Regions from separate parts of the Homo sapiens genome. Here regions 2, 3, 4, 5 and 6 are each linked to region 1. The links are contacts of gene promoters, found by promoter capture Hi-C in blood cells and fetal thymus (Javierre and others, 2016). All regions are on one chromosome and are shown on one strand. The core of a region is centred on a gene start or on the middle of the fragment in contact, and the rest is flanking DNA. Distances in the headings are between cores, read along the strand shown. Region 1 holds the start of NPIPB7 (nuclear pore complex interacting protein family member B7). Region 2 has its middle 3.6 kb from the start of XPO6. Region 3 holds the start of RABEP2 (rabaptin, RAB GTPase binding effector protein 2). Region 4 overlaps NFATC2IP (nuclear factor of activated T cells 2 interacting protein). Region 5 overlaps LOC124903672 (a long non-coding RNA gene). Region 6 has its middle 4.5 kb from the start of NFATC2IP.

What was found. The method cuts DNA at HindIII sites, captures the fragments that hold promoters and counts their contacts. A CHiCAGO score of 5 or more calls a contact.
Region 2: a contact is called between a fragment that was not itself captured here and the fragment with the promoter of NPIPB7 in region 1, in 1 of 17 cell types (naive CD8 T cells). The highest score is 5.3, in naive CD8 T cells.
Region 3: the fragment with the promoter of RABEP2 here is called in contact with the fragment with the promoter of NPIPB7 in region 1 in 1 of 17 cell types (erythroblasts); the score reaches 5.8 in erythroblasts.
Region 4: a fragment that was not itself captured here is called in contact with the fragment with the promoter of NPIPB7 in region 1 in 1 of 17 cell types (total CD8 T cells); the score reaches 5.4 in total CD8 T cells.
Region 5: a fragment that was not itself captured here is called in contact with the fragment with the promoter of NPIPB7 in region 1 in 1 of 17 cell types (erythroblasts); the score reaches 5.3 in erythroblasts.
Region 6: a fragment that was not itself captured here is called in contact with the fragment with the promoter of NPIPB7 in region 1 in 1 of 17 cell types (monocytes); the score reaches 5.0 in monocytes.

The regions. Positions count from the first base shown.
Region 1 is chr16:28,470,657-28,474,487 of GRCh38, reverse strand. NPIPB7 (nuclear pore complex interacting protein family member B7) reads left to right here and starts at 2,152. Exons shown (of 7, transcript NM_001396030.1): 1 at 2,152-3,831. It also overlaps a transcript of CLN3 not described here. RefSeq lists a silencer at 593-662. The HindIII fragment of the contact is 21,132 bases long and covers 1-3,831 here.
Region 2 is chr16:28,213,623-28,217,511 of GRCh38, reverse strand. No RefSeq gene overlaps it. Among named protein-coding and RNA genes, the nearest start is that of XPO6, 3.6 kb to the right of the region's middle. The HindIII fragment of the contact is 167 bases long and covers 2,455-2,621 here.
Region 3 is chr16:28,923,115-28,927,081 of GRCh38, reverse strand. It overlaps RABEP2 (rabaptin, RAB GTPase binding effector protein 2), which reads left to right and starts at 1,844. Exons shown (of 13, transcript NM_024816.3): 1 at 1,844-1,979; 2 at 2,467-2,679. The coding sequence starts at 1,919. RefSeq lists enhancers at 801-1,384, 2,363-2,592, 2,623-2,712 and silencers at 1,603-1,952, 1,983-2,202. The HindIII fragment of the contact is 8,433 bases long and covers 1-3,967 here.
Region 4 is chr16:28,960,800-28,964,678 of GRCh38, reverse strand. It overlaps NFATC2IP (nuclear factor of activated T cells 2 interacting protein), which reads right to left. Exons shown (of 8, transcript NM_032815.4): 8 at 1-974. The coding sequence ends at 816. All of the region lies in intron 1 of NFATC2IP-AS1 (NFATC2IP antisense RNA 1), which reads left to right. Among named protein-coding and RNA genes, the nearest start is that of NFATC2IP-AS1, 3.7 kb to the left of the region's middle. RefSeq lists a silencer at 2,164-2,372. The HindIII fragment of the contact is 1,351 bases long and covers 887-2,237 here.
Region 5 is chr16:28,815,962-28,820,031 of GRCh38, reverse strand. It overlaps LOC124903672 (a long non-coding RNA gene), which reads left to right. Exons shown (of 2, transcript XR_007065042.1): 2 at 11-941. Among named protein-coding and RNA genes, the nearest start is that of ATXN2L, 5.0 kb to the left of the region's middle. The HindIII fragment of the contact is 2,667 bases long and covers 79-2,745 here.
Region 6 is chr16:28,944,519-28,948,273 of GRCh38, reverse strand. No RefSeq gene overlaps it. Among named protein-coding and RNA genes, the nearest start is that of NFATC2IP, 4.5 kb to the left of the region's middle. The HindIII fragment of the contact is 5,380 bases long and covers 1-3,755 here.

The DNA of each region.
Region 1 (3,831 bases), core at 903-3,402:
CCTCAGCCTCCCTCTTTTTTTTTTATTTTTGAGACAGTCTCGCTCTGTTGCGCAGGATGGAGTGCAGTGGTGCTATCTCGGCTCACTGCAATCTCAGTCTCCTGAGTTCAAGTGATTCTCCCACCTCAGCCTCCCAAGTAGCTGGGATTACAGGCATGCGCCACTACACCTGGCTAATTCTTTTTTGTTGTTGTTTTTTGTTTTTGTTTTGTTTTGTTTTTTCAGATGGAGTCCTGCTCTGTCACCAGGCTGGAGTGCAGTGACGCAGTCTCTGCTCACTGCAGCCTCCGCTTCTGGGTTCAAGCTATTCTTCTGCCTCAGCCTCCCAAGTAGCTGGGATTACAGGCACCCACCACCACACCTGGCTAATTTTTGTATTTGTTATGGAGACGAGGTTTCGCCATGTTGGCCAGGCTGGTCTCCAACTTCTAAACTCAGGTGATCCACCGGCCTTGGCCTCCCAGAGTGCTGGGATTACAGGCATGAGCCACCGTGCCCAGCCTCTTTTCCGTTTTTGTTTTTTTTTTTTCCTTTGGTTGTCTGGTTTGGTTTTTATTATAGCCTTTCTAGTGAGTGTGAAGTGGTATCTCACTGTGGTTTTGATTTGCATGTCCCTGGTGACTAATGATGCTGAGCATCTTTTCATGTCCTTATTGACCGTACATATAGTTCTTTGAGAAATGTCTTCTCAGATCCTTTGCCCATTTTTAAATGGGATTGTCTTTTTTTATTAAAGAGCCAGAGATCTGAAGTCTTTTTGAGTTGTAAGATTTCTTCATATATTCTAGACAGAAGTCCCTTATAAGATACATGATTTGCAAATATTTTCTCCCATTCTGTGTTGTCTTTTTACTTTTTTGATATTGTCTTTTGGTACGGAAAGACACTTATTTTGATGAAGTCCAATTTATCTATTTTTTGTTTGGTTGCTTGTGCTTCTGGTAACATATCTAAGTGGGAGCCAGGTGCAGTGGCTCATGCCTGTAATCCCAGCACTTTGGGAGGCCAAGGCGGGAGGTTTGCTTGAGACCAGGAGTTCAAGACCAGCATGAGCAACATTGCAAGGTTCTATCTCTATAAAAAATTAAAATAATGATAAAAGGAGGCCGGGCGTGGTGGCTCATGCCTATAATCCCAGCATTCTGGGAGGCAGGAGGACAACTTGGGCCAGGAGTTCAAGACCAGTCTGGGCATCATGGCAAAAAAAGAAAAAAGAAAAAATTATCCTGGCAAGGTATGCCTGTAGTCCCAGCTACTTGGGAGGCTGAGGCGGGAGAATTGCTTGAGCCCGAGAGGTGGAGGTTGTAGTGAGCTGAGATTGAACCATTGCACTCCAGCCTGGGTGACAGGAATGAAACCCTGTCTCAAAAAATAAAAATAAAATAAGCCAGGTGTAGTGCTGCGTGCCTGTACTCCCAGCTACTCTGGAGGCTGAAGTGGGAGGATCACTTGAGCCTAGGAATTCGAGGCTGCAGTGAGCTATGATCATACCACTGCACCCCAATGTGGGCACAGAGCAAGACCCTATCTCTTAAAAAACAAACAAAGAGGGGCGGGGTGCAGTGGCTCACGCCTGTAATCCCAGCACTTTGGGAGGCTGAGGCGGGCAGATCACGAGGTCAGGAGATCGAGACCATCCTGCCTAACACGGTGAAACCCCATCTCCTTTTTTTTTTTTTTTTTTTTTGAAACAGAGTTTCATTCTTTTTGCCCAGACTCCCGGGTTCAAGCGATTCTCCTGCCTCAGCCTCCTGAGTAGCGGGGATTACAAGGGTGTGCCACCACACCCAGCTAATTTTTTATATTTTTAATAGAGGCGGGGTTTCACCGTGTTGGCCAGGCTGGCCTCAAACTCCTGACCTCAAGTGATCCGCCCACCTCGGCCTCCCAAAGTGCTGGGATTACAGGCGTGAACCAGCGCGCCCAGCCTCCTACATTTTCTTCTAAGAGTTTTATAGTTTTAGCTCTTACATTTAGATCTTGTTTTCATTTTGAATTAACTTTTTTGCAGGTGGTGTGATACAGCAGTCTGTGCAGAAAAAAGTTAACATAGTAGACCCTAACTGCTAACTTTATTTTTACTTTTATTTTTTATTTTGTTTAGAGACAGGGTTTTTGTCACCCAGGATGGAGTGAAGTGGCGTGATCATAGCTCACCGTAACCTTGAACTCCTGGGCTCCTCTGCCTCAGCCTCCCAATTAGCCACCACACCCAGCTACCTTTTGTACATTTTTTTGGTAGAGACGGTGTCTCACTATGTTGCCCAGTCTGGTCTCAAACTCCTCAGCTCAAATGATCTGCCCACCTTGACCTCCAGAGATACTGGGATTACAGGCGTGGGCCACTGCACCAGACCCAGGTTTATTCTTACACCAATACAACACTGTCTTAATTACTATAGCTTTGTAGTGAGCTTTTGAAAATAGGAAATGTGAATCCTCCAACTTTTTTTTTTTGGAGACGGAGTCTCGCTCTGTTGCTCAGACTGGAGTGCAGTGGCACTATCTCAGCTCACTGCAAACTCCATCTTCCAGGTTCAAGTGATTCTCCTGCCTCAGCCTACCAAGTATCTGGGACTACAGGCAGGTGCCACCATGCACAGATTCCTTGGACATCCCTGAGAGGTCAATCATGAAGGTCAACTTGGTTTTCTCCCCCTCATTTGGGTTCAGAATTTAAAGTCCACACACACAGGCAGTAAGATGATTATAGATAAGGACATCATCACTCGGTTTCGGATGTTAAATTGTCTAGGTGGGTTAGGGGTGATTTGAGATCACACAACCTTGTGCCACAAAGAGGAATTCCCAGGCCAGAGGGAGACATTTTATTGCCATGTTATGATCTTATCATTGAGTTGAAAGGCAATCTTGTTTCATTTTGGATTCTTTCTTATGTTTATGTCTTATAAGGGCACTTTGAATTTCCAAGCAAATAATAATTTTGAATTAGCTTTTAATCATTGACTTCTAGCACAGTTATATGATCAGAAACGTGCTGTGTGATTTGATTGCTCTCAAATATATTGAGATTTGCTGGAACAAAATAAGTCAGGTTAATTTTTGTAAATGTACCATGCTTGCTTAAAATGAATGTATCTACATTTGTTCCTGAGATACGGGTTGATGGACGGATGGCTACATGGATGTGATGGAGATGGTTTACTATCGGGACCTTCCGCATCCTGCTGATGTTTTGTTGCTTAGGATATGAATGGCTGAGCGGAGGCTGTAAAACCTGGCACTCTGCTTGGGTATGAGGTTCTTCCTGCCATCCTGCCATCATTTGTTTTTTATGTTTTGTCGCCAAAAGTGACCTTGAGGAACCCTGGGAGCTCAGGAAGGAAGGAGCGCCCAGAAGCAGGGACAGGGAGCTGGTTGGGGAGGACCAGAAATCAGGTTTGTGAAGGTTCCAGAGAGGACCTGTCCTTGCGAGGAGTGTGGGAGACTGAGATGGGGGAGGGGTCATTGGAATGATGCGGGCGCTACTTGGCATTGTCCATTGTGAGGCACCACCGGGGTCATCAGGGATTGGTGGAGAGGGAGTATAAAGCCCCAGGTTTGCTAAGGGAGGGCCCAGACCGAAGAAGGTTTGGCGGATAGCAGAACCTTTTTGTCTCCCTCTAATTGCTCCTAAGCCTCACGCTCCCTTGCCCCGCGTGTCCTGTTGCTTCCCTGATCTTCTCCGTGACCTGTAGCTAAACCTTCCACCAGCGCTTGAGAACTTAATTTGAACCGGATCCTTTCCCAGACCCCTTTCTTCTTCTCCTCCTCCACCTCCTCCAGGTGCCCAACAGCCCCCTTCTCCTCCTTTCCCTTCCCTTACTTCCC
Region 2 (3,889 bases), core at 1,289-3,788, 260 kb after region 1:
ACACTCCCCAGGCCATGGTGACTGGTTCAGGAGTGGGCATGTGACCCAATCAAAGACAAAGGGTTTATTTTTCTACGACATTTGTAGGAGATGCATATGCCCTTCTCTCCACCAGGCTTCAACCTGGAAGAAGGGAAAGCCTAGATATGCCAGGGCCCATGAGGATAAATGACCCCCAGTCAAGGAAGCAGAACCAACGAACAGAGAGAAACTGAATTCTGTGATATTCACACCCTGAATCCACCATATCTGAAATTCATCCAAACCTTTGGATGGCGTTTTACGAGACAATACATTCTTTTTTTCTTCTTCAACTGTTAAGAGTCCAAACTTTAGGGTCCCCACCTTGTTACTTGCAATGAAACGGACACAGTGGAAGACAGCTTGGAGTAGGAAAAGGACTGAAGACTGCAGCAGCCAGGTGAACTTCTATTCGTCCATCAAGACCCAACCCAAAGGTTACCATCTTTGTTGCTTCCTCCCCATTTCCTCGTACGCTTAGGAAGTTCATACACACCTCACAATGTGCTGTAATTATTTGGGTGGCTGTTGCTGACCCAGACAGTGGACAATTTGCCTGATTCTTATTCACTTTAAATACTTCATTTTTAGCAAAAGGCCTGGCACAAAGCTAATACTAACTCACTGAAAGTTTGTTGAATGAATAACTAAATGCAGGCGATCAAGGCAGTAGCAATAGAAATAGGCAGGCAGAGATGGCTGGGGGCCATCCCTGCAGTGCCAACTAAAAGTAATAGCAGCCTTAAATCTTTTTTTGGAATAAGACAGGCTTCAGATTAATATTAATAACAAAATGTTATTTAGTTTACTTGAACAAAATCCCTGGAGTCAAATTTATAATAGCTGTGACTTATCTCATGCCTCATGTGCCAGGTGTTTTATGTACATTAAATTAAATCTTCACCCCAGCCTGGCAATGGAGCTATGATGTGGTGACTCCACACATCCAGTTTATTCTGAGGAATTGAAAGCAACTCCAGGGGATTCTATAAGCCACTCATAGCAGTTCCACCCTCCTTCACTACGGCTAGATCCGGGGGACTAGGCCTAGGCCAATTAGGATCAGTAGGGAAAGCTTCTTGGCTTGAGAAAGGATGTGAGAAAGGTGCTCTCTCTTTTTTCTTTATTTTGAGATGGAGTCTCACTCTGTCACCCAGGCTGGAGTGCAGTGGTGCAATCTCGGCTCACTGCAACCTCTGCCTCCTGGGTTCAAGCAATTCTCCTGCCTCAGCCTCCTGAGTAGCTGGGACTACAGGCGCCTGCCACCATGCCCAGCTAATTTTTTTTTTTTTTTTTTTTGAGATGGAGTTTTGCTCTGGTTGCCCAGGCTGGAGTGCAATGGTGCAATCTCGGCTCACCACAACATCCGCCTCCCGGGTTCAAGCGATTCTCCTGCCTCAGCTTCCCAAGTAGCTAGGATTACAGGTATGCGCCACCACACCTGGCTAATTTTTTGTATTTTTAGTAGAGACGGGGTTTCTCCATATTGGCTAGGCTGGTCTCAAACTCTCGACCTTAGGTGATCCACCCACCTCGGCCTCCCAAAGTGCTGGGATTACAGGCATGAGCCACCATGCCCAGCCTCATTTTTGTATTTTTAAGTAGAGATGGGGTTTCACCAGTTGGCCAGGCTGGTCTCAAACTGCTGACCTCAAGCGATCCATCCACCTTGGCCTCCCAAAGTGTTGGGGATTACAGGTGTGAGCCACTGTGCCCGGCCAAAAGGTGCTCTCTTTTGCTGGATTTGAACAGGGAATTTTGTGGCCCTGGCTGTTCCTGGCAACCACCTTGACAACAAGTCTGATAATGGAGAAGAGCAGAGCAAGGAAGTCCTAGAGGAATGGCCGGGCGTGGTGGCTCATGCCTGTAATCCCAGCACTTTGGGAGGCCGGGGTGGGCAGATCACTTGAGCTCAGAAGTTGGAGACTAGCCTGGGCAACACAGTGAGACATTGTCTTTGCTGAAAAAAAAAAAATCAGCTGGGCATAGTGGCGCACACCTGTAGTCCCAGCTAACTGGGAGTTTAAGGTGAGAGGCTTGCTTGAGCTTGGGAGGTCGAGACTGCAGTGAGCTGTGATTGCGCCACTGCACTCTAGCATGGAGAACAGACTGAGACCCTGTCTCAAAAAAATAAAACAAAACAAAACAAACAAACAAACAAACAAACACACACAAAACCACACACAGAAAAAAAAGAAAATCCTAGAGGAATGGATCTAGGCCTCCCATCACACCCAGCCAAAAGCTAATGAATCTCTGGAAGTCCAGTTATGTAACCCAAAGGCATACCCTTAAGTGAGTCAGTTGCATTTCTGTTATCTCATTCAATTTTACAGTAAGGAAACCAAGACTTCGAGAGTCAATAACTCAAGATACCTTAGCTAGTGAAGTTAAGAGCTGGATTCCACTCCAAATGAGTCTCAACCCAAAGCTTTCACTCATCCTACTAAACTAAGCCAAGTAAGTGACTTGGCCTCCATTCCGATTCATCAGCTTACCTACTGAGATGGCTTCTCTTGTACATGCTGTTTCTACTGCCTGGAATGTTCTATGCCCCCTCTCTTTGCCTAGCAAACTCCTGCTTCTTTAAGGCCAAAGCTTAAAGAAATGTCACTTCCTGACTTCCTCCCCATCCTAATCTGCCAGATTATTTTAGATCCCTTGGCCTTATTAGCGTGTAAACTATATTAAAGTTATATCATGTTAGTTTCAATTTTTCCTTCATTGCTCTTATCACAATAACTGATCCATTATTGTACAATATTTTACAAATAATTTGTCTTTAAATTCCATAAGGGCACACATATATTTGTTTTGCTCAGCATTGAATCCTTGAAATAGTGACTGTCACTTAGTGGACAACAATAAAGATTTGATAAAATAAATGTGCTTGAGGCTGGGCATGGTGGCTCATGCCTGTAATCCCAGAACTTTGGGAGGTCGAGGTGGGCGCATCACTTGAGGTCAGGAGGTGAGACCATCCTGGCCAACATGGCGAAACCCCGTCTCTACTAAAAATACAAAAATAAATTTAGCTGGGTGTGGTGGCAGGTGCCTGTAATCCCAGCTACTTGGGAGGCTGAGGCAGGAGAATTGCTTGAACCTGGGAGGCAGAGGTTGCAGTGAGCCGAGATTGCACCATTGTACTCCAGCCTGGGCAACAAGAGCGAAACTCCCTCTCAAGAGAAAAAAAAATAGTGCTTGATGGCCTGGCGCGGTGGCTCATGCCTGTAATCTCAGCACTTTGGGAGGACGAGGCGGGTGGATCACCTGAGGTCGGGAGTTTGAGACCAGCCTGACCAACATGGTGAAACCCCGTCTCTACTGAAAATACAAAAAATTAGTTGGGTGCGGTGGTGGGCTCCTGTAATCCCAGCTACTTGGGAGGCTGAGGCAGGAGAATTGCTTGAACCCAGGAGGCGGACGTTGCGGTGAGCCGAGATCATGCCATTGCACTCCAGCCTGGGCAACAAGACCGAAACTCTGTCTCATTAAAAAAAAAAAAAAAGTGCTTGAGGCTGGGAGTTTGAGGCTGCAGTGAGCCATGATCATGTCACTGCAACAGAGTGAGACCCTTTCTCCAAAAACAAACAAACAAACAAACAAACAAAAAACTAAAAAACCCCTGAAAGCTATTGCTTTCAGTGGTAAAGTGTTGTATCAGTGGTTCTCCAAATGTGGTATCTAGACCTGCAGCATCAGCTTCATTTGGGAGCTTGTTAGAAATGCAAATTATTCAGCCCCATCTCAAACCTACTGGATGGGAAAGTCTATGAGTGGAGCGAGTAATCTTTGTTTTAACAGTCCTTCTGGGTGAATTGATTCAGATCACACTGAGGTTTGACAGGAAAGAAAAATAGCTCAGGGA
Region 3 (3,967 bases), core at 595-3,094, 450 kb before region 1:
GTGGCTATACCATTTCACATTCCCATCAACAAAATATGAGAAACCTAGTTTCTCCACATACTCACCAGCATTTGGTGTTAGCATTCTTATTTTAGCCATTCCAAGAAGTGCGTAGTGATGAAAGCAATTGTGGTTTTAATTTGTATTTCCCGAATAAATAGCTAATGATGTTTAACATCTTTTCATGCACATATTGCCACCTGTGACAGCAGTGAAATATCCGTTCATATCCTTTGTCCATTTTCTTTATTTCAAGTTCTGGGGTACATGTGCACGATGTGCAGGTTTGTTACACAGGGAAACATCTGCCATGGTAGTTTACCGCACCCATTAACCCATCACCTAGGTATCAAGCCCAGGATGCATTAGCTACTCTTGCTGATGCTCTCCCTCCCCCCTCCCAACACCCACCCCACAGGCCCCCATGTGTGTTGGTCCCCTCCCTGTGTCCATGTGTTCTCATTGTTCAGCTCCCACTTATAAGTGAGAACATGCATGTTTAGCTTTCTGTTGCTGCATTAATTTGCTGAGGATAATAGCTTCTAGCTTCATCCATGTCCCTGCAAAGGACATGATCTCGTTCCTTTTTATGGCTGTATAGTATTCCATGGTGTATATGTACCACATTTTCTTTATCCAGTCTATCATTGATGGGCATTTGGGTTGAGTCCATGTCTTTGCTATTTTGAATAGTGCTTCAATGAACATACTCGTGCATGTATCTTTGTAATAGAATGATTTATATTCCTTTAGGTATATACCCAGTAATGGGATTTCTGGGTCAAATGGTATTTCTGGTTCTAGGTCTTTGAGGAATCACCACACTGTCTTCCACAATGGTTGAACTAATTTACATTCCCACCAACAGTGTAAAAGCGTTCTACCTTTGGCCATTTTCAAACTGCATTATCTGTTTTACAAAAATCGCTCCAGCTGCTTTACGGAGAATTAATTAATTAAAGGGTGGAGTCGACACTGCGGAAGTTCAGGAGAAGTGATGGGAGCTGGGACGGAGTGTTAGCGCTGGAGATGGAGAAAAAGGGGCACATTCTGGAATAGTCAGCACATTGGAAGTAGAGTTTACGGGACTTGCAGGAGGACACGTAGAATCAAGGACTTCCAGGTTCCTGGCGTGTCCTTTACAGAGGGAAAAAAGGTTTGAGGGAAGGGGAACCAAGGCTCTGGACATAAATCTGAATTGCCTGTCACCGTCCGGGTGGAGGTCACAGATAAAGAGCCTGATCTAGACACAGGCGGAGAGGAGAGGAGGGATTTGAGGGCGTTGGGAGGAGGAAAGGGGGGCCAGCAGGAAGCGGTGACTGGCTGAGTAACAAAATGGGGGTGGGGACGTGCAAGTTTCAGACTCCGACTAACTACGCGGGGACTCCGAGGCGCTCAGAAAAATGAAGCCGACCCGGCCCTGCCCCGAGGGACGCTCCAAGAGGGCGGAGGTGCAGGGAGGGCCCCGCCACAATTCGCGGTAACGCAAGCCAGGCTCGGGCGGAAGGGCGGCCGGAGCCGATCAAAGGCTGGCTCCGGGCAGGGGCAGCGAGGGAGCGAGGGGGAGCTCTCCGCAGGCCGGTGTCCCGGAGGAGGCATAATTGGAGCAGGGCTTCCAAGGTCACGGAGAGACGCCGGGCAAGACCTCTTAAGGATCCTCTTCCGGGCTTGAAAGGCAGGCGTCCTCCCGAACCGCGCGACCCAGCCAAGAAGAGCCGGGGCGGGGCCGGGGCCGGGGCCGGGGGCCGACTCGGGAATCTTCGGCCGAGGCTCGGCAATCCCCCCATCCTCCGTCCGGGGCCTCCAGCCCGGGGCCGATCCGGAAACAGCCGAGCGGATCCGGAAACAGCCGAGAGGACCCGGAAGCGGTGCGCTCCGTCACCAGGGAGTGCGGGAATCCGCCGTTTGCGCTGAGGCAATGGCGGCAGCTGCGCCGGTGGCCGCGGACGACGATGAGCGGCGGCGGCGGCCGGGGGCTGGTACGTGAGGGGGCGTCCGTGCAAGCGGGGAACGGTGATGCTGGGGGCGGGGCCGAGCCAGCCACCTGCGGATGGGGGGTGGAGAGGGATGATGGAGGAAGGGGCGGGGCCACGCCGTCGGGAAAGGGGGCGGGGCCTACAGCCACAGGCAAAAGGGGGCGTGGCCCGGCCATTGAAGGGGTAGGGCCAGTGACAGGTGCGAAGTGGGGCCCGGTGAGGAAGGGGCGCGGCCACTAGGAGGGCGGGGCCAGGTGGGACCGAAGAGAGGACTGAGTGAAACTGGCCACCGCGAAGAGATGGAGTGTAGGCAGCACCCGGCAGAGCGAGTGGGAAGGGGGCGGGGCAGGGGCGGGGCCAGGTGAGCCGGGCGGGCCCAGGTGAAGGAGGCCCCAGATGAAGGCAACAGTACTAGGTTGCAGGACTTGCTAAGCCGGTAGGTGGCCTGGGGTAAGAGATGGGAAGAGAGGCTGATCCCTGTCCCCCACAGCACTGGAGGACTCCCGGTCCCAGGAAGGGGCAAATGGTGAGGCCGAGTCAGGTGAGCTCAGCCGGCTTCGGGCTGAGCTGGCAGGCGCCCTGGCAGAAATGGAAACCATGAAGGCTGTGGCAGAGGTGAGCGAGAGCACGAAGGCCGAGGCTGTGGCTGCGGTGCAGCGGCAGTGCCAAGAGGAGGTGGCCTCGCTGCAGGCCATCCTGAAAGGTGAGACGCGGGACTCACCTAGACTCCCCATCAACCCCATACTGGGGAGTGCATGACGAGAAAGGGATTGGGGGCACAGATAAGCTATGGGATAGGTTAGCAGGGCTGCCTGGCACAGGGCATGCCTATGGCCCAGAGGAAGGGCCGCCCTTTTAAAATTTGCATAGAGGCCCTCCATGTGATAGCAGCAGCTCTGTCAGTTATAGCTAAGTTTAGCTCCCAGCTTCTATCTGTTGCCTTGTCCCATGTCATTTCTTGTCCCTCACTGATGATTGATCAACCCTGAAGATGGGCGAGAAACTTCTCAGTTCCCCAAACCAACCTCATTTTAGTCTGGACTTCTGGGAAATAGAATCAGCCCTGGCCCAGTCTCTGTGAGTCTAATGCTCTGCTCTCTAGCCTTCCCCAGACACTCCCCCCTCCACCCCACGCCATGCACCAGCTTCCCCACCTCCGCCCCACGTTCTTTGTACTTGGTCCTCTGGCCCCAGACGCCCCAGCTGCTGATCCTGTTTTCTACTCTCCTTCCTCTAGCAGAAGCCAGAGACTCTGAAACAGATGTCAGAGCTGCCCCCGCTGCTATGCCCCTGCTGCGGTGGGGCTCTCGTCAACTCTCTCCTGGACTTTTGTCCCAACCTTCTCACAGATCTTCCTCTATAGTGTGGCCTTGACATTGGCTTCCAGAGTAAACTTCCTAAAATTCCCTTCCCAACATGCGATTTCCCTTTCTAACAGCTGCTGGTGGCTGGAGACTTCTCTGGGGCTGTATTTCCCACATTTCAGGATCCACCTGCCTGTGCAATGTAGACACATCCTTGTACAACTTACTGTGCTGTTTACTTAATATTTGTTCTTTAAATAGATCCACATTTTAAAAGTTTACATACATTTATTAAGGGAAACTTGTTATATCTACTATATAAGAAAAGCCAGGTGTGTCCTAAATAATAACAATAGCTAGCTTTTTTTTTTTTTCTTGAGTCAATAAGAGTTTCACTCTGTCGCCCAAGCTGGAGTGCGTCACAGCACGCTGGTGTGATCTCAGCTCACTGCAACCTCCACCTCCTGGGCTCAAGCAGATCCTCCTACCTCAGCCTCCCAAGTAGCCAAGACTACAGGTGCATGCCACCATGCCTGGCTAATTTTTAGTATTTTTTTGTAGAAACAGGGTCTCTCTATGTTACCCAGACAGGTCTTGAACTCCTGAGCTCAAACGATCTGCCTGCCTTGGCCTCCCAAAGTGCTGGGATTACAGGTGTGAGCCACCGCGCCTGGCCAGGTAGCATGT
Region 4 (3,879 bases), core at 313-2,812, 490 kb before region 1:
AAACGTGGTATTTTACAAATACATTCATATTCAAAGACATGGGTGCTTATGGGAGAGGATGGTGTAAAGAAAGGGAAAAAAGCCATAAAACCAGAGAATCTTTGCATGGGACTGTATTCCTGAGATCCCAAACCAAAGGGATGAATGTGCTGTTATGCCTTAAATGTGTGCACCAGGAAATGCAAACTAGAAAGGGTGGCTCTGAAGGGTCCTCAGGTGAGGAAGACCCCCAGGGCTGAGAATCCACCACCTTCATCCTTCAAAAGAGTACCTCAGTTGTCTGCTTACGCTTCAGCCAGCATGTGTGAGCTTGGTCATTTCCTGCAAGCCAGGCAACCACACCAGTGTATAAGCCTCAAGCAAATGTCACTCCCAAGCCCCAAATGGGACTAAGGCCTCTGCTGGGCTAGGCGTGGTGTAAATCCCAGGCCTGGAAGCTCCTACCCAACCCTCATTTGTTTCAACTCACTTTCAATATGTGCATAGTTTCATAAAGCAGACATTTCCATGAGGAAAAGAGGATGGTGGTGAAAGGGGAGGGGTGAAGGGACATCTCCAAGTCACAGAGGCTGCAAAACTCAGCATGACTTGTGGACGGAGCCACAGGCCACCCAGGGCAACAACACCCACATAACTCACCAAGTGGTTAACGGCTCTAAACCAGGGTCAACAGGAGAGGGGACAAAAGTCACTCCTTGATTTTGCTGCAGCTTAAAGATAAGTTCTACCTCAGCTTATGCTAGCCCTTATGGGGCAAAAAAGGGAAAGTCATTCTCCCCAAGTCCAGGCTGGGCCGTCAAACAGGGAGTGGGGTGTCAGCCCCAGACCTCAATGAGGTCCCCAGATTCCATGCCCAGGTCAGCTGGCAGCTCCCTGCCTGAAAGCTTTGTCCCATCAAAGAAGAAGGAGAGCTTCCGTCCCGACAGTCCCATGGCCTCCTCATAGTGGGACATGAGGGTCTTTAGAGGGGAATCCTGGATGGAGACAAAAGAAAATGGACGTCAGAACATGAAAGGGGGCGGGGATCCCGTAGGGATAGACGAGGAACTTGGGACAGGGAGGATGGCGGCAGGGGCGGAAACAATAAAGTCAGGGCCCCATGCGGGGAAAGGAGAGAGGACAAAGAAGCCAGCCCAGCCAGGCTCCTCTCTGGGAGCTGGGACGAATCCTGTCATCCCTCTGGGCTCCAAGTTGCTCAGGTAGAGGACGGGGGCCACGAGCCCAAGGCTTAGGGGTATAGGCTCTAAGTCAGGCAAGTCCTCCTAGCCTCAGCCTCCTTCCCTATGAAACAGAAGTGTGTACCAATGACTAAGAGAGCCCAGATTCTAGAGTGAGGATGAGTCGAGCTGGAGGCCAGGCTCTCCCACCTATTAGATATGTGACCTTAGAAAAATGTTACAGGTTATGTTCCCCAGAGAAGACACCTTGTGGTCTTAACCCCTGTTAAGTGTGAATGTGATGTGATTTGGAGACGGGGCCTTTGCAGATGCAATCAAGTTGAGGTTGTACTGGATTGGGACGAGTGCTAATGCCGTGGGACTGGTAGACAACTCACTGCAACCTCTGCCTCCTGGGTTCAAGCAATTCTCCTGCCTCAGCCTCCTGAGTAGCTGCAACTACAGGCACAGGCCACCACACCCAGCTAAGTTTTTGTATTTTTGGTAGAGACAGTTTCTCTGTTGCCCAAGCTGGTCTCAAACTTCCTGAGTTCAGATAAGCCACCCACTTTGGCCTCCCAAAGTGCTGGGATGACAGGCGTGAGCCCCCGCACCCAGCCTGGGACTGGTATGCTTATGGAACAGACACAGAAACAGACATGAGGGGAGAACACACGTGATGACAGAGGCAGAATGGAGTGCACCTGCAAGCCAAGAATGCCAAGGACTGTGGGCCGCCAGCAGGAGCCAGGAGGAGACAGGGCAGATTCCATGAAGAGACCCTGAGGGACTGCGTGATGTTGTCAAATATATATTTGGTCTTTGTATGTTTCCTGGTATAAAATTCCTAAAATCCCTGGGAAAGAGTTAAGTATCTTTTTGCATGCTAATGAGTTGACTGGTGGCTGGCAGCCCCTAGAGAGCTTCAGGAATGGTGCTGGTCACTAGAAAGACCAAGGTAGGATAAGACAGTTGGGACTTTTTCCCCACCCCTCAACCTCCAAGAAGGAGGGAGAGAGTGAAGGTTGAGTCACCACCAATAGCCCATGGTTTAATCAGTCATGCCTATATAACAAAGCTTCCATAAAAATCCAGAGGACAGGGTTTGGAGAACTTCCCAATAGTTGAACATGTGGTGATTCCTGGAGAATGGTGCCCAGGGAAGCTATGGAAGCTCTGCGCCCTTTTCCCATGCTGTGCCCTACACATCTCTTCATCTGTATCCTTTGTAACATCCTTTATAATAAACCAGTAAATGAAAGTAAGTGTCTCCCTGAGTTCTGTAAGCTGCTCTAGCAAATTAAACCCAAGGAGGGGGCGAGGTGCAGTGGCTCATGCCTGTAATCCCAACACTCTGGGAGGCAGAGGTGGGAGGATCAGTTGAGCCCAGGAGTTTGAGTCCAGCCTGGGCAACATAGTGAGACCCCGTCTACACAAAAAAAATTAAAAAATTAGCCAAGGGTAGTGGCACACACCTGTAGTCCCAACTACTCAGGAGGCTGAGGTAGAAGGATCGCTTGAGCCCAGGAGTTTGAGGCTGTGGTAAGCCAAGATCGCACCACTGCACTCCAGCCTGGGCAACAGAGCAAGACCCTGTCTTTTTTTTTTTTTTTTTTTTTTTTGAGACGAAGTCTAGCTCTGTCGCCCAGGCTGGAGTGCAGTGGCTTGATCTTGGCTCACTGCAACCTCCGCCTCCCAGGTTCAAGCGATTCTTCTGCCTCAGCCTCCTGAGTAGCTGGGACTATAGGCGCATGCCACCATGCCCGGCTAATTTTTTGTATTTTTAGTAGAGACAGGGTTTCACCATGTTGATCAGACTGGTCTTGAACTCCTGACCTCGTGATCCGCCCACCTCAGCCTCCCAAAGTGCTGGGATTACAGGCGTGAGCCACCACGTCTGGCCCTGTCTCTTTTTTGTTTTTTTCAAAAGAAAAGAAAAAAATCCTGAGTTTGTTTTCTTCCCCCATATCTTCAGAGACACTTGCTCTGCTAACACCTTGATTTCAGACTTCTACCCTCCAGAACAATGAGAGAATAAATTTATGTTGTTTTAAGCCACCCAACTTGTGGTACTTTGTTACAACAGCCAAAATACAAAAGTGGGGTGCTGCTGGAATAAATGGTTAAATGTAACAGTGGCTTTGAAATTGGATCAGGGCTGGAATAATTTTTTTTTTTTTTTTTTTTTTTTTTTTTCAGATAGGGTCTTGCTGTCTCCCAGGCTGGAGTGCAGTGGCCCAATCTCAGCTCACTGCAGCCTCAATCTCCTAGGCACAAGCGATCCTCACACCTCAGCCTCCTGGGTAGCTGGAACTATAGGCCTGCGCCAGCATGCTGGGCTAATTTTTGTATTTTTTGTAGAGGCAGGGTTTCACTATGTTGCCCGGGCTGGTCTTGAACTCCTGAGCTCAAGCAATCTGTCCATGTTGGCCTCTCAAAGTGTTAGGATTACAGATGTGAGGCACTGTGCCTGGCCAAAGCTGCAAGAATTTTGAGGTGTATGTTAGGAAAAACCTAGACTGCCTTGAAGAGACTGCTGGTAGAAATATGGACATTAAAGGGAATGTCCCTGCAGGCTCACAAAGAGGAGAGGTGCAGAGAAATCTCCTATCATCTTAACAGGATGCATATATTGTTATGAACAGAAGGCTGCTAGAAATATGAATATTAAAGGTGTTTCTGGTGAGGTCTCTGGAGGAAATGAGGAATGTGTTATTGGTAA
Region 5 (4,070 bases), core at 163-2,662, 350 kb before region 1:
TCCCTTACAGATCTAGCATTCCTGGAGGAAGGGCATGTACCATTAAACTCCGCCATTTTGCCTCTTGGTGCATAAGCTTGAGCCCATTTACCCAACTTCTGAGATCTTATCGAGAAGCTGCTGATCATCAGTTTCAAGTGTTTTCCATCTATTTGGAGACTGCCTTTCCCTGGTGCTGGCTGCAACCAATTACTATTTTAGAGACAAGTTTAACAACCACCTGACCATCACCTGATGGTTGCCTAACATTCCTGGTGGTGGGGTTGGGGCAGCACTCCTGCCCCAACAATGGGAATGTTGTCTTATCGTGTGCAATTTAAAAATTATATCACTATGGCCAGGCTCAGTGGCTCACGCCTGTAATCCCAGCACTTTGGGAGGCCGAGGTGGTTGGATCGTGAGGTCAGGAGTTCGAGACCAGCCTGGCCAATATGGTGAAACCCCGTCTCTACTAATAATACAAAAATTAGCTGGGTGTGGTGGCTCACGCCTGTAGTCCCAGCTACTCGGGAGCCTGAGGCAGAAGAATCGCTTGAACCCGGGAGGTGGAGGTTGCAGTGAGCCAAGATCATGCCACTGCACTCCAGCCTGGATGACAGAGCCAGACTCCATCTCATAAAAAAAAAAAAAAAAAAAAAAAGAAAAGAAAAAGAAAGCAAACTTCAAAAGACTGTGCTACCTTTTGTATACTGTGCTACCTTTTGTATAAGGAAGAAGGGGAAATATGAAGACATAAATGTATCTGCAGGTTTTTGCCAAGAAAAACAAAGTATAAACCAGAAACTCATCAAATTGATTACCTGTGATGGGGGGATGGGGGAAAATGAGGATTGCTTGAGCTCAGGAGGTCCTGGCTGCAGTGAGCCGTGATCTCGCCACTGCACTCCAGCCTGAGCGACAGAGCGAGACCCTATCTCAAAATAAAAACAAAACAGACAGTATGGGGAAAATTGATAAATTTGGAATATAGACTACAAAGTATTGCATCCATGATAAATTTCCTGAATGTGTTATGACTCTACTGGAGATATGGAAGGATGTATTCTTTTTTGTGGTTGTTGAGACAGGGTCTCGCTCTTGTCACCCAGGCTGGAGTGCAGCAGTGGGGTCTTGGCTCAATGCAGCCTCCACCTCCCAGGCTCAAGAGATCCTCCCACCTCAGTCTCCCAAGTAGTTGTGGCTGGAACTATAGGTGTGCACCACCACGCCCAGCTAATTTTTTGTTTCTTGGTTTTTTTTTCTTTTGGTAAAGATGGGGTTTTGCTGTGTTGCCCATGCTGGTCTTGAACTGCTGGCCTCAAGCTATCCACCTGCCTCTGCCTCCCAAAGTGTTGGGATCACAGATGTGAGCCACCATGTCCGGCCAGGGTGTTTTTTTGTTTTGTTTTGTTTTTTGTTTTTTGAGACAGAGTCTCCCTCCCTCTTGTCACCCAGGCTGCAGTGCAGTGGTGAGATCCCAGCTCACTGCAACCTCCGCCTCCTGGGTTCAAGTGATTCTCCTGCCTCAGCCTCCCGAGTAGCTGGGATTACAGGCGTGTGCCACCACGCCTGGCTAATTTTGTATTTTTAGTAGAGAGGGGGTTTCTCCATGTTAGTCAGGCTGGTCTTGAACTCCTGACCTCAGGTGATCCACCCTCCTTGGCCTCCCAAAGTGCTGGGATTACAGGCGTGAGCCACTGCGCCCGGCCTAATTTTTGTATTTTTAGTAGATACGGGGTTTCACCACATTAGCCAGGCTGGTCTTGAACTCCTGACCTCAAGTGATCTGCCCACCTTGGCCTCCCAAAGTGCTGGGATTACAGGCGTGAGCCACCAAGCCCAGCCCAGGGTATATTCTTAGTAAATATATAAAGAAGTATGATGGGGCAACAGAGTGTGATAGATGCAACCTACTCTCAAATGTTTCCAAAAGGCCAGGTGTGGTGGCTCATGCCTGTAATCTCAGCACTTTGGGAGGCTGAGGTGGGTGGATCATTTGAGGTCAGGAGCTCGAGACCAGCCTGGCCAACATGGTGAAACCCTGTCTCTACTAAAATACAAAAAATTAGCCAGGCGTAGTGGTGCGCGCCTGTAGTTCCAGCTACTCGGGAGGCTGAGGCAGGGGAATCGCTTGAACCCGGGAGGTGGAGATTGCAGTGAGCCGAGATCTTGCCACTGCACTCCAGCCTGGCAACAGAATGAGTCTCACACACAAACAAGGTTTCCAAAAAAAGCATATATATATATATATATATACACATACACACACATATATATGTATAATATACACACAGAAAGAGAAAATGCAAATGTGGCAAAATATTAACAACTGGTGAATCTGGGTAAATGTTATCCTGACGTTCTAGACTTTCCTGGAAACGCTAGCCTTTTAACATCTCTGTACATTTGAAATTGTTTCAAAATAAAGAATTTGAAGCCCAGGCATGGTGGCTCACACCTGTAATCCCAGCACTTTGGTAGGCCGAGGTGGGCAGATCACCCGAGGTCAGGAGTTCAAGACCAGCCTGAGCAACATGGATAAACCCCATCTCTACTAAAAATACAAAATTAGCTGGGCATGGTGGCGCATGCCTGTAATCCCAGCTACTCGGGAGGCTGAGGCAGGAGAATCGCTTGAACCTGGGACACAGAGGTTGCGATGAGCCGAGATCGTGCCATTGCACTCCAGCCTGGGCAACAAGAGTGAAACTCTGTCTCAAAAAAAAAAAAGAATTTGCACATAAGTAGTAAAATTAGTTCAAAGCTTTTGGAAATATAAAAATAGTAAAAATTGGCTGGGCACAGTGGCTCACGCCTGTAATCCCAGCCCTTTGGGAGGCCGAGGCAGGCAGATCACGAGGTCAGGATATCGAGACCATCCTGGCTAACATGGTGAAAACCCATCGCTACTAAAAATACAAAAAAATTAGCCAGGAATGGTGGTGGGCGCCTGTAGTCCCAGCTATTCGGGAGGCTGAGGCAGGAGAATGGCGTGAACCCGGGAAGCGGAGCTTGCAGTGAGCCAAGACGGCGCCACTGCACTTCAGTCTGGGTGACAGAGCAAGACTCCGTCTCAAAAAAAAAAGTAAAAATTGTCCAGGCGCAGTGGCTCATGCCTGTAATCCCAGCACTTTGGGAGGCTGAGGCAGGCAGATCACTTGAGGTAAGGAGTTCGAGACCAGCCTGGCCAACATGGTGAAACTCCATCTCTACTAAAAATACAAAAATTAGCCGGGCCTGGTGGCAGGCGCCTGTAATCCCAGCTACTCGGGAGGCTGAGGCAGGAGAATCGCTTGACCCTGGGAGGTGGACAGAGGTTGCAGTGAGCCGAGATCATGCCACTGCACTCCAGCCTGTGCGACAGGTGGAGACTCCATCTCAAAACAAAAACAGAAAAAAACCCCAACAAACAGATGAATGGATAAAGAAAATGTGGTACATATATATAATGGAGTACTATTCAGCCATAAAAAAGAATGAGATCCTGTCATATGTGACAACATGAATGGAACTCGAGGTCATGATGCTAAGTGAAATAAGGTGGGCACAGAGACAAGCTTCAAAAGTTTTCACTTATTTGTGGGAGCCAAAAATGAAAAACAGTTGAACTCCTGGAGACAGAGAGTAGAAGGATGTTTACCAGAGATTGGGAAGGGTAATGGAGGCAGGGAAGGCAGAATGGTTAATGGGTACAGAGATATAGTTAGATAGAATAAATAAGATCTAGTATTTGTTTGTAATGACTTCTGGATTAAGCATTTTAAAAAAGATCTTAGCTGGGCGTGGTGGCACATGCCTGTAGTCCCAGCTACTCGGGAGGATGAGGCAGGAGGATTGCTTGAGCCTGCTGGGAGGTCAAGGCTGCAGTGAGCAGAAATCACGCCACTGCACTCCAGCCTGAGTAACACAGAGAGACCCTGTCAAAAAAAAAAAGAAAAGGATTAAAAAAATTACTTGATAGCACAACAGGGTGACTACAGTCAACAATAATTTATTGTACATTTAAAAATAACTAAAAGAGGGCCAGGCGTGGTGGCTCACGCCTGTCATCCCAGCACTTTGGGAGGCCAAGGCAGGTGGATCACTTGAGG
Region 6 (3,755 bases), core at 838-3,337, 470 kb before region 1:
CCCAGCTACTCGGGAGGCTGAGGCAGGAGCATGGCATGAACCCAGGAGGCGCAGGTTGCAGTGAGCCGAGATTGCACCACTGCACTCCAGCCTGGGCGACAGAGCGAGACTCCGTCTCAAAAAAAAAAAAAAAAAAAAAAGGCTGAACTATGTTTGACTAAAGGTGTTGTCACGTCCTCTTACGTGAGGACTAGTCATTGTTTATCTTGAAAACATGGTATTGCAACCACCCCTATAAACTTGAGAAGAAGGGAGAGGGAGAAATGAAAAGAAACCAAACTTGCGGTGCACTCAGCATTGATCTCAGGGCAGCTGCTCCCTGACCTGCTTCCCCAAAGCCATCTGGTGCCTGTTGCCCCACAGTCACACAGCCCCTGTCAGAAGATTATAGTTCCCCTTAACTGCTCTTGAATCACGGCTTGGACATTACATTAGGTGTTCCCTTTGAGATATTCCTTCAGGTCTTGATGGAACTACTGATTCAGCTGACCTGAAGGACCCCACAAGGAGCTGACTCCCCGCAAAATGCAGCTTCTACACCCTGACAATTTCATCCCCCTTCCCAACCAATCAATGACCCCAATATTCCAGCCCATCACTCCCCACAAACCCCTTAAAAGCCCAGCCCAGAACTCCCTGGAGAGAGATTTGAGGGTCTCCTCCCATCACCTCGCTCGGCACCCTGCAATCATTAAACTCTCTCTGCTGCATCCCCACCGTCTCAGAGTCACAGAGCTGTGACTGCACAGTGGGCATATGAACCTGCAGCTCCTGTAACAATATGGAATTTGAAATTTTATCTTGAAAACAGGATAATGGTTTACACCTGCTTGGCTGTAATGAAGGATATTTCTTTTTGCCTTTGCAATCTTTTACCAGATTGCCAGTGATGTGCATCACATTCTAACTTAATGCTTATTCAAGCCGGGTGCAGTGGCTCACGCCTCTAATCCCAGTACTTTGGGAGGCTGAGGTGGTTGGATCACCTGAGGTCAGGAGTTCGAGACCAGCCTGGCCAATATGGTGGTGTATTTTTCTACTAAAAATACAAAAAATTAGCCAGGCATTGTGGTGGGCACCTGTAATCCCAACTACTCCGGAGCCTGAGGCAGGAGGATCACTTGAACCCGGGAGGCAGAGGTTCCAGTGAGCTGAGATTGTGCCATTGCACTCCAGCATGGGCAACAAGAGTGAAACTCCATGTCAAAAAAGAAAGAAAAATTATGCTTATTCAATAATAAAACCAGCCCGGGCATGTTGGCTTATGCCTGTAATCCCAGCACTGGGAGCCTGAGGTGGGAGGATCACTTGAGGTCTAGGGTTCAAGGCCAGCCTGGGCAATATAGCAAGACCCTGTCTCTACAAAAAGTAATAATAATTAGTGGGTGTCGTGATGCACACCTGTAGTCCTAGCTACTTGGGAGGCTGATTGAGCCCAGGAGTTCAAGGCTGCAGTGAGCTATGATCTCACCACTTCACTCGAGCCTGGGCAACAGAGCAAGACCCTCTCTCTAAAAATAAATAAATACATACAATTTAAGGCCAGGCACAGTGGTTCACGTCTGTAATCCCAGCACTTTGGGAGGCCAAGGTGGGAGGATCACTTCAGGCTGAGCGTTAAGACCCGCCTAGGCAATATAGTAAAACCCCCAACTCTACGAAAAATAATAATACATTTTAAAACTTTTTTTTTTTTGAGATGGAGTTCCACTCTTGTTGCCCAGGCTGGAGTGCAGTGGCACAATCTTGGATCACTGCAACCTCCACCTCCCGGGTTCAAGCGATTCTCCTGCCTCAGCCTCCTGAGTAGCTGGGATTACAGACATGCGCCACCACGCCTGGCTAATTTTTTGTACTTTTAGTAGAGATGGAGTTTCACCATGTTGGTCAGGCTGGTCTCGAACTCCCAACCTCAGGTGAGCCGCCCGCCTCAGCCACCCAAAGTGCTGGGATTACAGGCGTGAGCCATCACGCCAGGCCCATTTTACAACTTTTTAACCAAAAATAATAATAAAACTGTTTTCTGTCTCTACTACCTTTGTGGAGAAGTTTGTTGGGTTTAGATATTTTGTTTCTTAATTATATTTCCCAAACACACTCGCCAACACCTCCTACCAACAATATTGTGCACCTCAGAGACTACACGCCCTCCACACATCCACAGCGTTGGCAACTCCTGCACAACATATATCCCAACACAACACAAACACGCCCCTTCAACACTTCACTCTTCCCACTTTGCCTCCAACCGTATAACCACCTGCCGCCTCACACTTACGTCCCACGCCACACGTCGCTCAGGATACCCACACCGCACACACCCAATACCACATGCTGCTCACACCCACGGTGCTCACAAAACTCGCGCCTCATACATCCACGCAGAACGGCATGTCCACCTCTGCCCTAGTCTCATCCCATACGCCTCCATCCCAACCGCGGCACCGATGTCCCCTGCAGGCGCCCCCCGCTGGACCAGCATGCATTTCCCTTCCCCGTGCAGACTCCGCCAAGGTCAGGACTGCAGGCGCACAACAGCCAGCAGGTGGAGCTGTTTTCCAGGAAACGGAGGCTCCTGGACTCCACCGACTTCCCAGCCCCAGGAGGCCTTCAGCCTCTCTCTGTAGCCAGGCGGCAGGCCAGTCTTGGGCGCTCCCGGGAAACCACTGCAAACCGCAAGCAGGAGGTGGCCCTGAGAGTCTAAAATTTTCAAGTCTCCTTTCCCCAAACCTTGCTCAAGAGCTGAAAGTGCACCTGTAAGTCCCAGCTACTAGGAATGCTTGAGATGGGAAGATTGCTTGAGTCCAGGAGCTCAAGGCTAGCCTGGGCACACATAGCGAGACCTCATCTCTGTTTTTTGTTTTTGTTTTTGTTTGAGACGGAGTCTCGCTCTGTTGCCAGGCTGGAGTGCAGTGGCGTGATCTCGGCTCACTGCAACATCCGCCTCCTGGGTTCAAGCGATTCTCCTGCTCAGCCTCTCAAGTAGCTGGGACTACAGGCGTGTGCCACCAGGCCCGGCTAATTTTTGTATTTCTAGTAGAGGCGGGGTTTCACCATGTTGGCCAGGATGGTCTCAATCTCTTGACCTAGTGATCCACCCGCCTCAGCCTCCAAAAGTGCTGAGATTACAAGTGTGAGCCACCGTGCCCAGCCAAGACCTCATCTCTTAAAAAAAAAAAAAATTATTTTTTGGCCAGGCGCAGTGGCTCACGACTGTAATCCTAGCCCTTTGGGAGGCCGAGGTGGGAGGATCACTTGAGGCCAGGAGCTCAAGTCTAGCCTGGGCAACATGGCAAAACCCCTTCTCTACCAAAAAATACAGAAGTTAGCCAGCCGGGTGTGGTGGTGCACGCCTATAGTCCCAGCTACTAGGGAGGCTGAGGTGAGAGAACTACTCAAATCCAGGAGTTCAAAGTTACGGTGGGCTATGATTGTGCCATTACCCTCTAACCTGGCCTAGCCTAGCCTAGTGAGACCCTGTCTCAAAATAAATAAATAAATAAATAAATAAATAAATAAGATGTCAAATAATAAGAGCTCATGCTTGAGTCCTTGCTAAGCCACTGTTGTATGCTTTACGTGTCATTTAAGACTCATTGATAATGTCCTCATTTTCTGAATTACTATTTCATGGTCTATTTTACAGACCAGGAAATTGCAGTTCAGAGAGCTTAAGCCATGTAGCTGGAAAGGGGTGGAGCCAGGATTCACATAAACCCAGCTAGTCTGGGCCAGGCACAGTGGCTTATGCCTGT